2 separate regions of the Homo sapiens genome follow, and region 1 is linked to region 2. Evidence: promoter capture Hi-C in 16 types of primary human blood cells and fetal thymus (Javierre and others, 2016). All regions are on one chromosome and are shown on one strand. Each heading gives the region's core, a stretch centred on a gene start or on the middle of the fragment in contact. The rest is flanking DNA. Distances are from core to core; before and after follow the strand shown. Region 1 has its middle 5.4 kb from the start of OR6J1. Region 2 holds the start of ABHD4 (abhydrolase domain containing 4, N-acyl phospholipase B).

The links. Contacts are between HindIII fragments. The CHiCAGO score rates a contact against its expected background, and 5 or more counts as called.
Region 1: a contact is called between a fragment that was not itself captured here and the fragment with the promoter of ABHD4 in region 2, in 4 of 17 cell types (M0 macrophages, M1 macrophages, megakaryocytes and 1 more). The highest score is 7.0, in M0 macrophages.

The regions. Positions count from the first base shown.
Region 1 is chr14:22,648,452-22,651,151 of GRCh38, reverse strand. No RefSeq gene overlaps it. Among named protein-coding and RNA genes, the nearest start is that of OR6J1, 5.4 kb to the right of the region's middle. The HindIII fragment of the contact is 5,780 bases long and covers 1-2,700 here.
Region 2 is chr14:22,596,873-22,599,572 of GRCh38, reverse strand. It overlaps ABHD4 (abhydrolase domain containing 4, N-acyl phospholipase B), which reads right to left and starts at 1,273. Exons shown (of 7, transcript NM_022060.3): 1 at 1,244-1,273. The coding sequence starts at 1,266. RefSeq lists an enhancer at 1,039-1,278 and a silencer at 1,389-1,588. The HindIII fragment of the contact is 5,320 bases long and covers 923-2,700 here.

The DNA.
Region 1 (2,700 bases), core at 150-2,649, 51 kb before region 2:
ATGCCCACATGCTCACTGATTCTCTACACTGCCAGGATCGCAGACATACAGTGTACTTAAGGAGCTGTGCCTGAACACAGCTCACCAGTTCAGAGTCCTTCTTCCCTTGTGGTGAGTTCCTTCTTAGAGGCTCCATAATCCTTTTCTGTAACCTAACCTCAGACTACGGGCACTTGCATACATCAGACCTATTTTTATGTTCTTGAATCTAAATGAGGATCAACGTTCCAGTCCTTTTTTTTTTTTTCCAGTCCGTTTTTACCCCTGGGAGAATCCTGATTTTTAACATAATTTGGTATATGCAAATAGATATAAAGGGACTCTTCTTATCTCTATTTGCTGTGGAAATAGAGGCACTAATGTAAGCAGATATTCTGAGGGGTGGGTTCAGGAAGCATGCCAGTGGTGCGAGGCTGGGGATGGATGTTTTCTGCTCTTCTCAGCCACACTGGAACCCCAGTTCTTGCCTAGCCAAAATATGCTGCTAGTCTTGCTTAGCAATAGACACTTAGCCTTAAAAATTTTTTATCCAATGACTTTTCCTTCGCTCTCATGTTTCATAACCTTTTCCTAGTTTCTGGCACTGCTGACATACCTACGTCTTGGATTTCTCCTCCCCTGCTTGCTAATCCTGTACCACTGGCTTTCTGTTGGTTTGCTTTCTCACTACTCTTTCTCTTGTTCCCAGTGGTGACTCCTTCTCCTGCCTTTTAACTGAAGGCTTTCACCGAGGCTCTATTCCCATTTTCTGAGATGAGGGCTCACTATGTTGCCCAGGCTGGTCTCAAACTCCTGGGCTCAAGGGATCCTCCGGGCACAGTCTCCTCAGTAGCTGGGATAACAGGCATGAACCACAGCACCCGGCCCTTTTTTTCCTTTTCTACATAGACTTCTCCAGAGTATTAGGTTTCCTATCTATTTGCTTACTTACTCACCCACTCCTTATTCACTTTTTTATTGAGTTTCTCTCATGTCTTTGTTATGATATTGGGCGTAGGGAATACCACGAAGAATAAAACCTAGTTTCTACCTTCAGGGAGTCATATAAATGGATAAGGCATAGCCTGAGCCAGTACCTGGCTCTTTCTACTCATAGTCTGGTGGTACTCATTGCCCTGTATTGAAAGGCTAAGTCTTGATTTTAATCTCACATCTTCCATGAATCCTGTGCCTGTACCACTAGCTTTCATTGATTTTCTTCTCTATACTGCTCTGGTCAAGAAAGCTGGAGTTTTTGCCTTCAAAGTTTTGTTACCTTGGGTGATTCATTTGACCTGTGTTAGACTTAACACCCTTCTGTGACATGAGGAGGTTATAGAACTAGGGTCCTTCCATCTTCAAAATTCTATTCCTATGATCATATACAATTGTGGGGAGGGGGAGATGGCTAATATAAAACATCAATTATATAGTGGAACTAGTACTTAAAAAAAAACCAACTTATGAATGACATCCTCATGAGAGTTGCTAGTACATCATAAAATTGTTGGTTGGGCCTAAAACATATTCATCCTTGTCGCCTATTATAATTAGCCAGTTGCCAGACCCATTACCATGCTCAAGTAAGGGAAGGCAGACATGAGAGTGGCTGGAGTTAAAGCAGAATAAGGTTGACAGCCTTAAACTTTCTGGAAGTATTGTCCTTGTACAGAAATTGTCCAAAGGTCATTGACCTTTAAAGTGAATTTTTGCCTTAATCTATAAATTTATAAATGTCATTTATGTTAAATAAATTTCTGTAGAGCAAAAGTTTGTTTGGATCTTAAAAATAACTTTCTGATTAGAAATGTGATGTATGAACACTATTTTCTTACTCATTGATACTTTGAATTTAAAAAACAGAGGCTTACTCAAGCTAGTTGACTAAAGTCTTGTGTGTATGTGAGTGTGTGTGTGTATGTGTAAGATTGTAGAAAGAATACATCAGGCAGTCTCTCATGGGCATCCAAGAGTAGGAACAAGGCACACAGGGATTGGAACAAGAAAGTCAGCAGCTCAGGCTGCCACCATCCTTTCCGGTGGGCCCGTGTTCCCTCAGTCATTACTTGTCTCTGAGTCTAAGCTACTGTTACACTTCTCTTTGAAACAAGGTCTCTACTATCACTGATGGTTTATTTGCTCCCCTATGACTTCAGCTTAGGAATCACTTTGGTTTGCTATGGCACCTACTCCAGCCCCAACTCTACACAACTTTTCAGAAAAGTACCCACCAGCGTCTTACTAATTAGTCTCTGTGTTTGTTAGAGCTCTTATGACTGCAGAAGACCATAATTCAAATGAACTTAAGAAAAACGGAGGATTTTTTGGCTTGTACAATCAGAAAGGATATTGTTGGCAGGCCTCAGGCATGACTGATCCAGTCATACACAACAGTGTCCAAATTCTATCTCTGTCTCTTAGCTGCATTTCCATTGGTGTGTTGTCCTCATGAATCCAGACAGCAGAAAGGCTCTCTCCGTGCAACAGTGGAAGGGTGAGGCTGGGTGTAGATCTACTGGCAGCTCAGGGTTACATCATCACAGCTTTTGAGCCCAGAGGAGAGAGCTTTTCCTAACTCTGCTCCAACATATGGATTCTAAAGGAGGGATTCCTGGCCTGCCTTGGGTTGGATGGTCACTCTTTGGATCAGTCACTGTGGTTGGGTGATGGATATTATAATAGATCGTGTTCCCTTTCATGAACTTTGGCTTTATATTGTGA
Region 2 (2,700 bases), core at 24-2,523:
ACACTGGAAATGGTGCCTGGCACACTGTATGTGCTCAAAACTATGCGGGAGGTAAGGGCTGGAGTGGGAAATTGAGGCAAGGAGCAGAAAAGACATTCAGCCATGAACTTAACCTGGCTAGGACGGTCTCTGTCAACTTGATGGGGGTGAAGCACAAGGGGTTCTGTGCTGGGAGAGAATCCTGTTCTAGACCTCTGTGATCTTGGGCAAGTCTCCTAATTTCTATGGACACCAGCTTCTTCATTTTTAAAAAGGAGCTGAACTACCTGCATGTCCTCCAGCTCTAATATTCTGCCTCCCTAAGTCCTTTAAAGCATTGCAAATTTCCTCTTGGAAAAGTCATCTTAGAAAGTAAAACATTCCCCTGGACATTTCTTTCAAGCCCAGCAAGCTATTAATTATGGTCATAAAGTTAATTAGTTCCCCGGACTTCCAGTTCTACAGGTCTGAAAAACAGGATTACTGGGTCCAGGAAAGGCCCAGTTCTGGTGAAACCAAGGCTCGGCTGGGAGCTGAGTCATTCTTCTCGTAGCAACTTTTTCTTACTCCTATCAGATTGCGAACTGCTAGTCACACCACCTACAGGTGGTATCCCAAACCTGATGCCCTTGAAAGAGTGGTAGCAAATCCCAATAGCTCTAAATCTGAAACCATTGCATTAAAGATGTTGTTACGATTATTAAAAGCATTATCAACTAGGATCACATGCGGCTACGTGTCTCGGTGGGCGACAGCTAAAGAAACTTGCAAGCCCGTTGTTCCACACCAATTTCAGCGCGATGGAGACCTCTCCAGTCTCTCCACATCTTCTCTTTGCCGGGCGGAGGGAGGAGGCTCTCTCCATCCCCACGACTGCCGTTCTGGGGGGCAAGTCGAGACGAGCACGCCTGGCTGCTACCTCCGCACCCGCGTCCCACAAGCTTGCTTTCGGGGATCTCACACATCAACATGGAATCTCTCCAGAGGCCAGAGGAGAATGAGGGGCACTCGCGAGGACTAAGGTAGAAAGCCAGGATCCCCGGGCTGCGGGCGAGCGCGTCTCCCATGGCTCCCCAGGCTCAGCCGCTGCCTCTTCTGGGCAAATGCAAAGCAAGCAACGCACCCACCCCCCGCCCTCCCCGGAGGCCGACCTGGAAAAGGAAGAGCGGGAAGGTGTCTACAACTGTTCCTCAGCCACAGACAGTCCCAGGATCATGGCCCAGAGAGAGAGAGAGAAAGAGAGAAAGGGACAGGATTAACTCACTGCTGCTCCAGATCATCGGCCATAGTAAACAAGCCTTGCCAGGTCCTGGCGAGCCCGCCCAGCGCCTGACGCCAGCACCAGCTGACCCGGGAGGCCGCGGGGAGCAAGGGGGCGTGGCCGCGCAGGGGGCAGGGCTCGCGGCGGGCCGGCGGTCGGCGGTGGGACCCTCAAAACTCTGCAACTTGGTTTCAGCTAGTGGGGCCCTTGCTGTGTTTTCAATCACTGGCATGTGTCCCGGCAGAGATGTCTCTGACGGTCTCAGAATGGGACAGTAATCCTGGTCACACATTTGGGGGAGTCCTTGCAGGAGCTCCGACAGCCCTCCCTTCTCTCATAACTAAAAAGTGGTAGAACTACGCCTGCACGCTCGCACCCACTCTTTGGGCTTCCCATTGTAACTGTGTCCTCCTGAAATCGACCCTTGTTAATGTTCCTTCTAGTAAGAGGCTTAAATGTTTGTGGAGACAACGCCATTGGTTGAATGCTCCTACAAAGGGCCTGGATGCCAGATTTCGAAACTAAAATACAGGACACCTAGTTAAATGTAAATTCCAGATTTAAATAAAGCAAATACTTTTTTAGAATAAGTATGGGCCATGCAGTATTTGGGACATAAGTAGGCATCCTGTATTTTCTCTGGCAAACCTAAACCTATATGACATCTGCCAAAATGGGCATATCTCTGCTCTGATGTTGACTCTGACCCCAACCTATTTTCCAGGGAAAATATAGCTCAACTCCAGGTCACCCTCAGTTTGGAGGATAACAGTTGAAGGACTCACCAATAAGGCTAGGTCTCCTTTCGGTATGTAAATGCGGGGACAGGGAGATAAGGCTGGCTTGGCCCAGAGGTCCTGAGTGCACTTCAGTTTGCTCAGCAGAGGAGCTAAATCTTGAGGCTGGCTGCTGAATTTGCTTGTACCGGTAAACAGGGCCTGACCTCCCTGGAACTGTCAGATTTCAGATCATCCCCTTAGTTAAAACCAGACTAGGGGTGGGGCGCGGTGGCTCACGCCTGTAATCCCTGCACCTTGGGAGGCCAAAGTGGGTGGATCACTTGCAGTCAGTAGTTCGAGACCAGTCTGGCCAACATGGTGAAACCCCATCTCTTACTAAAAATACAAAAAATTAGCCAGGTGTGGTAGCAGGCACCTGTAATCCTAGCTACTGGGGAGGCTGCGGCAGGGAGAATTGCTTGAACCCAGGAGGCGGAGGTTGCAGTGAGCCAAAATTGTGACACTGCACTCCAGCCTGAGAGACAGAGTGAGACTCCATCTCAAAAACCAAAAACAAACAAGCAAACAAACAAAAAAAACCAGACTGGGGAGTGGTGGAGGATGGGTGAGAGAATGCTGGTGCACAGGGGTTTATCAAAGCATTTTTCTTTAGCCTTCCTGCAGGACCCAGATGATTCTGAGATTTCTTCTTTGTAGCAACACAGTGTTAAGCTGATCATT